3 separate regions of the Homo sapiens genome follow, and all the other regions are linked to region 1. The links are contacts of gene promoters, found by promoter capture Hi-C in human tissues and cell types (Jung and others, 2019). All regions are on one chromosome and are shown on one strand. The core of a region is centred on a gene start or on the middle of the fragment in contact, and the rest is flanking DNA. Distances in the headings are between cores, read along the strand shown. Region 1 holds the start of SCAF11 (SR-related CTD associated factor 11). Region 2 overlaps PCED1B (PC-esterase domain containing 1B). Region 3 has its middle 55 kb from the start of PCED1B.

Region 1 (3,225 bases), core at 242-2,741:
TCTGCGAGAATGCAGGAAGGCGGCAGTGAAGCGGTCGGTCGGCGGGGCCGCGGCAAAGTGGGGAGGAAACTCATCCCGGGCAGGCGTCAGGGTGGCTGGAGAGCGCAGCACGCGCGAACAGAACGGGGGCAGGCGACAGGAAAACGTGTGAGCGCGCGGCTGAAAGCGACTGGGACCTGGGTGAGCCGCGCGCGGGGAGCAGAGCTTAGTCCTGCGGGAGCCGCAAGCAGGACAAGGGCGTGGGTGGGAGGACTGGAAGGTCAGCTGGTAGATGGGGGACACTGAGGGCAGGCAGAGCAACCGGAAGCTTGCTGCAGTCGACGAGAAGAGAAACTAGGAGGTTAAATAATCAGTGACTTTGAAAAAGTCAAAATACCTCCGAGGTAAAACAAAACATTTAACAACCCGCCGGGGGAAAAAGTGGAGGATGGCACACACGTCACTATCTAACCACAACGCGGAGGCCTTTTAAGTAAATAATGATAAAGTTTTTGTTGTTGTTTGAGACAGGGTCTCGCTCTGTCGCCCAGGCTGGAGTGCAGTGGAACGATCTCGGCTCACTGCAACCTCCGCCTCCCGGGTTCAAGCGATTCTCCCACCTCATCTTCCCGAGGAGCTGGGACCGCAGGTGCGCGCCACCACGGCCGGTTAATTTTATTTTTTGTAGAAACGAGATCTTAATACGTCGCTCAAGCTGGTCTCGAACTGCTGAGCTCAAGCGATCCGCCAGCCTCGGCCTCCCAAAGCGCTGGGATTACCGGCGTGAGCCACCGCGCACCTGGCCCAAATTTAATTTTGTGATGTGGGGTTAAGACATGGGAAAGCCCCTAGGCTCGGGGAGTCAGGCGGGAAAGCTCTCCCCCTGGCATCTAAAAAAATGCCCACCAGAAAGGAGGAAAGGTGGGCTTCCAAATTGCCGACTCTTCACTCCACAGGCTGCATTTCAGGTGGGCAGCGCAGCCAGGTGAACACTCAATCCACCGCAAACATGCGGACACTCTTTTCAATATCAGATTACCATAAAGATAAGGAGCACACCCTGCGCAAAATCCTTCCTGTCCAGTTCCCTTAAAGCCTCTTTCATTGTCCTCCGCGACGCAGCCTGTAAAACTGCCAAAGGAGGGCAGAGGCCAAAGTCCACGCGCTGCGCATGCGCACCATCCGCAGTGTGGGCGAAGGGCGGTGCTGGAAGGACGTTTCCCAGAAGGCCCCTCCAGCGCAGCTGCCCTTCCTCCCGCTCACAGGCCGCGTGACGTGACTCCACCCACCACGCTTCTCGGTCTCAAACAGCAGTTTGCCAGCGCCCCCCTGCGGCCCAACTGGGTACTACGAACATGCACTCAGGGCCAGAGCGAGCGAGTAAGCAGAATGTGGCGAGTCCGGCTGCCGCCGTCGTCACCTTAGCGCGCCGACAGCGAGGGAAGGGAGGAGGAGGGAGACGCGCAGGGAGGGGAGGGGAGGGAGGAGGCTAGACAAGGCGGGGGAAGGGGGAGTAGCGGTGGCTTAAGCCGCGCGGAGCAGCGCAACCTGGGTCGCTCCCTGCTTCGCCGCCGCCTCCGGACCGAGCCAGCGGAGTCAGTGTCCTAGAGACCCTGTAACACCACAAAGCGGACGAAGGAGTCCATGTTGGGGAACTTGGCAGCGGAGTGACTGGGACCTGGGAACCTACTGTGGGGCCGCGGCCGGACCGAGCGCCTCGACCTCGGTCTGAGGTAAACACTGGTCGACCCGCGGGGTGGATGGGCTTGGGCAGCTGTCTGGGAGAGACGAGGGTTAGCGGCCGGCGCAGAGCGCTGGAGCGGGCCTAGGGCGACGCGAGGGCTGACAAAGTTTCGGAATCTCGCGCGGCCCGTGCGACGTCGTGCGCTGGGAGGAAAGTTGGAGCTACCTCTCGAAGTGGGGGAGGCTGCGGCCGGGAGGGCCCCTTTCCCTCTCGCTGCCCCGCGAGGGAGGCTCGGCCCGGCCCTGGGCCGCCGCCGCCTCTCTGTCGCACTCTGTCCCATTTCCTCCTTGTGGCCTACGCGTCTCCCGCCGCCTTAGCTGGCGAAGCCTGTCCCCGTCCGGGTGCAGGGTCCTACGGGGGGGGGGGAAGGGGCTCCACGCCAGAACCGCCACAGACACCCTCCTCCCTGCAGTGGAAACGTGTCCTGCTGAGCTTCCGGGCGCTCCCGACCGCGGTGTCGGCTTTTCTTGGGAGACTTTGGTCGCGAGCGTCCAAGCCCGCTAGTGAAACCAAACTTTACTACGCCGTGACCTCTCGAGTGCGCGAATGGGGAAGAGCCGGCGCTTCTAAGCATCAGCCTTTTTCACTCCTTGATCTGAACTTCAAACTACTCATCCACCCCCAGTGTTTTAAATTCGCTACCTGGGCTGACAACTACGGGGCCGGGAGATATAAATTTAGCCTAATCAGTCGCCCCTTCTGAGACCTAGGAATTTTGAACCATTAAAAAGATTTCCTACAGATGGCTGGCGGTCTTGCCACCAACACGTATTTTGAAGTATTGTTTCAAAAGTAGACGCCTGATTTAGAGTACTTGATTTAGACATTCACGGATTCAAATGTTGAATTTTGAAATACTTCCAATATATTTCCGTATTGTATTACATACAGTGTCTACCAGCTGACTGTTGTTCATTCATTTTGGATTACATTTTGGCTAACATGCTACCACTGACCTAAGATACTTAAGCAAAACTGCTGAAAAATGTTTTTAATGCTTTGTGTAGTAGATGCTGATGTTAAATTTTTTTCTCCGATTTGGGAATTTTCCCCGAATTTTGGGAAAAGCATATTAATAAATGCATTATTTTTTCGTTTTAAAAGAAAAATTAATTTCTACATATCACCACCTACCTCAGCAGCAGAATATCAGGGCAGTACATTTTAAAATAACGGTTGGTTTTTGTATTTTATTAGTAATTGTATTAAAATTTTGACATGTAATCAAGTCTGTTTCTAAACAATTGCTTTCTCTTTCCTGTTTCTTTGGCAGTTGGCTTGATCATGTCACTATTTTGGTTAAAAGATGCAAGAAAAAGTTCATGGGCCTTTTGTTTTTGTTGTTTTAACTAAGCAAGAGAAATGAAATCTTGAAACTGTCTTTGGATTTCTTTTGTTTTATATTATCCTATCGGATAATCTGAATTTATATTTTTTATGCAATGTGAGTTTTTTAAAAACAGTTCTTAGGGTAGCTGCATTTTAGCTATAATATTTTTTGG
Region 2 (3,225 bases), core at 295-2,794, 1.2 Mb before region 1:
CTGGTTTCAAGTAAACCTCCTGCCTTGGCCTCCCAAAGTGCTGGGATTACAGCCATAAGCCACCATGCCCAGCCACTTCCCACTTCTCTAGACACTCATTTATCTTCCCATCAAACTGTGGCTGAATTTCTCAAATAATTGTCTTGTGACCTTTGAACAGTCTCCCTAAATGTAAATATTGCATTGACCAACAATGGGAATGATGGCAGCACATTCTCACCAGGCAATTTCAGAGAGCTGCTGTATAATTTTTCTTGAAGCACTGGCTGGGAATACATAATTGGGTGGAAATATACTTTGCTTCTGAAATGTGTGGATAAAGTCATTTTTATTTTTGATGACTGGTTTTGTTTTAATTGTGAAGAAATCCTTAGGTTGATCTGTATCCTGGCAATCATTTAAAAATTTTCATGTTGGCGGGGCGTGGTGGCTCACCACCTGTAATCCCAGCACTCTGGGAAGCTTAGGCAGGAGGATCACTTGGCCCAGGAATTCAAGACCAACCTGGACAACATGGTGATATCCCTTTCTTAAAAAAAAAAAAAAAAAAAAAAAGAATTTTGATGTCTAACAAATATTGGAAACAATATATATATTTTGAAGATATAGCTTAGGGAGGAGGGGAATGTTGCAATATATATTTTGGGAAGCTGAGCACAGTGATCAATGTCACATTTGTTTTCAGTTTTATGGTTAAATATTTTACTTTCCCCCAATTTTTCTTAGTCCTTAAAAAGTGTGTCTTTGATTAAAACATTATTTTTTAATTGGTATAGTTTTAATTTTATATGTTTTCTTACATAAAACTTCATCATCTAGGTTTTAAAGTTTCAAATTCATTTAATATGTTAGAATAATTCCAACATTTTGCATTCTGTAAACTTTTTATGTCTTGGGATATGATCCTTTCTTCTTGGGATCTTCTGAAAGCCCGCAGGGAACCATAGGGTTTGTATAAGCCCAGAGGGCCTTTTCTCATGTCTTTATGTTTGTCTCTGTGACTCACCTTTGAATGTTCCCCAACCCTTTCCTGTTACTGAAATTCTGCTCCTTCATTAAGACTCACGTTAAAAGACAATTTTGTCAGAGAGCCTTCCCTACTCTCCTAGATAGAAAAATCTCTCCTTCCTCTGAGGGATGCCTCTACTTAACCTTTGGTTCTGTTTTGTTCTATAATTAACTGCCCATGTGCCATTCTATCCCACTCTATGCTAGTTCTGGATGGCAGAAGTGGGTCTCACCCATCCTTGTACCCCTCAGGGCCCAGTGCCTGTGCCTAGTAATCATCGGCACTCACTGAGCACTCACTTTGTGCCAGGCCTATTCCATTCTCACAACCCGGTGAAGGAGGAAGTATTATTATCTCCATTTTATAGATAAGTAAACTGAGGCATGGAGAGGTTATATAAATTGCCTAAGGTTGGCTGGGCATAGTGGCTCACGCCTGTAATCCCAGCACTTTGGGAGGCCGAGGTGGGTGGATCACCTGAGGTCAGGAGTTTGAGACCAGCCTGATCAACATGGTGAAACCCAGTCTCTACTAAAAATACAAAAATTAGCCTGGTGTCATGGCACACACCTGTAATCCCAGCTATTCAGGAGGCCGAGGCAAGAGAATTGCTTGAACCCGGGAGGCAGAGGTTGCAGTGAGCCAAGATCGCGCCACTGCACTCCAGCTTGGACAATAGAATGAGACTCTGTCTCAAAAAATAAATTAAAAATAAATAAATAAATTGCCTAAGGTTGCCCAGCTAGTAAATGGCAGAACTATTCTTTTGACAATGTATCTTCTTCTTCTTCTTCTTTTTTTTTTTTTTTTTTTTTTGAGGCAGTGTCTCCCTTGGTCACCTGGGAGTACAGGGGCATGATCACGGCTCACTGCAGCTTCAACCTCCCAGGCTCAATCAATCCTCCCTCCTCAGCCTCCTAGGTAGTTGGGACTTTAGGCTCATGCCACCACACCCATTATTGACAGTGAATCTTCTGAATAATTAGATAAGCTTAAGGTTTCCTTTTGTTTCTTTAGGAAGAAGTATGGCTCCAAAGCCTGAGCTTTTAATCTCAGCTATAAATACTTGTTTAAATTAAGAAGAAAAAAAATCATATTATCTAGAAAGAAATATTTGCATGTAGCTTTCCTTGTTATTCTCTGTTGAAAAACAAAACAATATTTTGTGCACAGCTTTAAATTTTTCCATGAGAAAACAAAGCAGGTGTGAAATAACTTAGTTCGATTTTCATCACTCTGTTAGCTAGTCTTCTTAAAAGCCGATGGAAAACCCAGTGCTGCACTAAAGCTATATTTGTGTTTCAAATGTTTAGGCTTATGCTGACTACTCTAGATTCCAACCAGTGGCTGAATTAAAAGTTCCCATGGATGAAAAACAAGGGCGATTGGAGAGCTAATAATGACGAGTGCTTTCAACTGATGAACAGGTTGGATTGTGACAATTCTGCTCCAGGACTAGCTACAAAAGTCCATTTACTCAGTAACAGGAATCTAGGGTTGAGTCAGCAGGCCTGGATTTCTTCCACCTCTAATGCTTACTTTATCTTTGTGCTACTTAGTTTTTTACTTCTTAAATGGGGGAAATAGCACCTATGCTCCTCTGAAGGGATTACCCAAAAGAGTTTTAAAAATGGACATTATTTTATTATTGTTGCTATCATTATTGTTACCATTTTTGTAGTATTTAAATTCTATGTGTAATAGTGTTTCTATGGAAAAAGAAACTTTTTTATTTTTGTTTTTTGAGATAGAGTCTCACTCTGTTGCCCAGGCTGGAGTGCAGTGGTGCAATCTTGGCTCGCTACATCCCCTGTCTCATGGGCTAAAGTGATTCTCCTGCCTCAGTCTCCGGAATAGCTGGGATCACAGGCATTTGCCACCATGCCCAGATAATTGTTCTATTTTTAGTAGAGGCGGAGTTTCACCGTGTTGGCCAGGCTGGTCTCGAACTCCTGACCTCAGGTGATCCACCCACCTAGGCCTCCCAAAGTGCTGGGATTACAGGCCTGAGTCACCTTTTTCCACAGGCGGCCGATCTATGGAAAACATTTTTTGAATTTAAAAATGAGAGCAAGTCTCAGCCAGGTAGAGTGGCTCACACCTGAAATCCCAACACTTTGGGAGGCCAAGGAGGGACGATTGCTTGAGACCAGGAGTTCAAGCCCACCCTGGGCAATAAAGCTACACCTCTGTCTCTAAAAAAAAAAAAAAAAAAG
Region 3 (3,225 bases), core at 445-2,944, 1.0 Mb before region 1:
TGGCTTGACAAAGTATAGGATCATTGAATGCTCGAATCTGCATTATTAATATTGAGTTGTCTCTCCAGACAGGATAGTCCATGTTGATAATCCAGCCACAGTTATATATCAACTCCAGTCCAAAAAAAATTCCCCAAGAGTAACTATTAATATGTTCCATTTCACTTTATTTGGGATTACTAAGATTGTTAAAAGAAGATGATAAAAGACGGAGACTGGGCACAGGGTGATGAAGAATGCAGAGACCTTCATTTGGTACTGGCAGTACATTCAAGCATCTTAAGTTTAAACTGGGAAGAATCTCAATCATTTCTTGGACCAGCTACCTAAAACTAATAGAAAAAAGGCAATGTTTGAAAACTAAATGGATTTTTGGCATTCAACAGCTAGAGAAAATGAGTTTGGGGGCTGAGGGTTTGGGGGAGGGAGGGCGGTATTTTATAAAGGTCACTGTCCCAAATGGAAGTCAAATGCTTCATCTTCTTTAACTGCAACAGAATACAGCTTTTTCAAAAAATGAATAACCAGTGAAGGATATCTTGGTTTTCTTTCTTACCCATTAGAGATAACTGATAAAAGTTAGGCAATAGAAGAGCTAGTTGGTAAAAATTCATATTAATTAATTTGTTGGTAAAATTATATATTCTTATAAATTATAATAAAGCCATAATGTAGAATTATAATTATATCAAAATTATAAGTTATTTTGTTGGTAAAAATTCATACTATTTTATGTCTCCTTGGTGGCTACTCTGACACATTTTCTTTAGTTTTTTTTACTAGATCTAAATGAATCAGAGGGCAAAGATCTACATTTATCTTGTCAATTTCCCCATATCCTAATTATATGATATAATTATTGTATTTTATAATTATTTTATGTGTACATAATATGTACTTAGCATATATATCATATAATTATTGGATATATTATATTTTTCTTGTATCTTTGTCTCAATGCTACAAAGAGAATAATAGTAAGGATAATAAATTACTTTCTAACATTAGCTCTGACCATCATACACTGTAACAGAGCTTTGGCCAATGCGTGGGCAGTGGCATGCTGGAGCTGGCTGTAGTAGCAGCTCAGAAGAGCTGATTGCGAGCATTTCTTTCCAACTCCTTTTTCAGTGACCTCAAGCTGGAAGCTTAAAATGAGACATAGTGGGAGTAGTTATACCATAAATACAGTACAAATCAGGGCTTTTCCTCCTAACAAACTAGTTTACCAGCACATCATTGATTAAATGTCAGAAATATATATATATAAAGATCTATTTTGTGTGGTATCAGGTGGCAGGAGAGAGGAAAAGGAGAGGTTTTGATTGCTGGAGAAGTGAAAGGGTCTTGAATTCAGCATCAATTCATAAAATTGGTTGAATCATAGAAATCTGCTAAGCTTCAACTATTTTTGTTTACAACATATCATATGGTTCAACCTAATACATGAGGCTGCAAGTAACAGAAACCCCTACAAACAATAGCTTATATAAATAAAACTTTTTGTCACATTGCAAGGAATCCAAAGGTAAGAAACGTCCTGATACAGCTATTCAATGAACTCAGCGATGCTGTCAGAGACCTATCATCCTGTTGCATCATCCTTAGAAAATTGACTTTTGTCCAGGTGAGATGGCTCACGCCTGTAATCCTGGCACTTTGGGAAGTGCAGGTGGGCAGATCGCCTGAGGTCAGGAGTTCGAGATCAGCCTGGCCAACATGGTGATACCCCGTCTCTATTAAAATTACAAAAATTAGCTGGGCATGGTGGTGCATGCCTGTAGTCCCAGCTACTAGGGAAGCTAAGACATGAGAATCCCTTGAACCGGGGATGTGGTTGCAGTGAGCCGAGATCATGCCACTGTATTCCAGCCTGGGCCACAGGATGAGACTCCGTCTCAAAAAATAAAAGTTGACTTTTGTCCTCAGGCTTGTCATCTTATGGTCACAAATGTCTGCTGTGCCTCCAGGGACTATGTCTTCATTGCAGGCAGAAGAGAAGAGAAAGGCAAAGGCTGTCTTCTGTAAGTTTATCAATGTTAATCAGAAAGACAAAAGTTCTTTTCTATGTTATCTGTGTTAATCAGAAAGACAAGCCCTGGAGGCTCATTCAAAAACTTCTGCTTTCATCTCATTGACCAAAATTTGTCACTTCATTCCCAGACAAAGTTACAAGATTACTAAGATTACTAAGGCTGGTTTAGACCAATCATAATTTATCCCTGGCCCTGGGATGAATCACGATTGGTTTAAACCCATCCATAAATACTCGACAGAGGGAAAGATCTCAGCAGCCACCTGAACGAACTTAAGGTTCCATTGGCTTGGGGAGGGAGGGGTGGATATAGGAAGAACAACAAAGGAGATCTATCACAATGCCCTTGAATTATGAATCCAGGAATCTAGAAACAAAGTAACAAGCTTTCCCATTTCTTGGTTTAGCTATGTAAAAGTAGTTCTATGTGTGTGTGTGTGTGTGTGTGTGTGTGTGTGTGTGTGTGTATCAGTGGTTGTTAAGCATTGTATTTAATTAGCATGCAGCTCAAAAAGTAGTTTGGCAAAATTTATATATTATATGATCACAGCATTAAAATTTATTCTTGAAGTCTCAGTCTTTACACTTTAATCTTTACGTGGCACAGTGGTCTGTTTACAACTTTTAAAAAAGATTGAGAGGGCCTTAAAGTAACATCACTGATCTAGCACGTTGGCCTAATAGATTGTTGGGAGAAGATAATGATATAAGATAAGGTATGTTATAATATAAAAATTTCTGAATAAAGAGCCTAATGCTAGCCATTTTAAGGAAAGCAGAAGGAGTAAATATACTCTTCTGCAGTGGTGATGGCATCATTTAAAAACTCTCACAAGTTATTTACCTACCTTGACATTGCAGGATCATGTTATCCAAGTGATTTGTAGTCTTGCCTCTGGAATAATGGCAGATCAACCAGTATAAAACCCTGGGTAATATACTAGTCTGAGTTAACTGTTTATACTTCGCTTTCCTGTTGATTTACCTATGGCAAATAAGACAATGCATGTCAGTTCTGCTCTTGGCTAGACTTTGTAGAGTAGTAGGTACAATGCATGTTTTCCTGACATGGTTATAAAGTATTTTTTGTCACATTTATAAGCACGGCTTCAAAATTGGACACACTTAGGTTTTATCCAGAAGCTGCCCTTTACTGTCAATGTGGCTTAAAATAAGTTATTCAATGACTC

The links. Contacts are between HindIII fragments. The study calls those that stand out against the background at their distance.
Region 2: a fragment that was not itself captured here is called in contact with the fragment with the promoter of SCAF11 in region 1 in 1 of the 25 tissues and cell types used here (IMR-90 fibroblasts).
Region 3: a fragment that was not itself captured here is called in contact with the fragment with the promoter of SCAF11 in region 1 in 1 of the 25 tissues and cell types used here (lymphoblastoid cells).

What each region holds. Positions count from the first base shown.
Region 1 is chr12:45,988,840-45,992,064 of GRCh38, reverse strand. SCAF11 (SR-related CTD associated factor 11) reads left to right here and starts at 1,491. Exons shown (of 15, transcript NM_004719.3): 1 at 1,491-1,712. RefSeq lists enhancers at 378-577, 1,058-1,127, 1,138-1,337, 1,056-1,769, 1,578-1,787 and 1 more and silencers at 1,458-1,507, 1,848-1,947, 2,348-2,417. The HindIII fragment of the contact is 22,524 bases long and covers 1-3,225 here.
Region 2 is chr12:47,218,669-47,221,893 of GRCh38, reverse strand. The region is part of intron 3 of PCED1B (PC-esterase domain containing 1B); the gene reads right to left. Among named protein-coding and RNA genes, the nearest start is that of PCED1B-AS1, 3.8 kb to the right of the region's middle. RefSeq lists enhancers at 1-456, 752-1,252. The HindIII fragment of the contact is 4,388 bases long and covers 1-3,225 here.
Region 3 is chr12:47,022,527-47,025,751 of GRCh38, reverse strand. No RefSeq gene overlaps it. Among named protein-coding and RNA genes, the nearest start is that of PCED1B, 55 kb to the left of the region's middle. The HindIII fragment of the contact is 4,816 bases long and covers 1-3,225 here.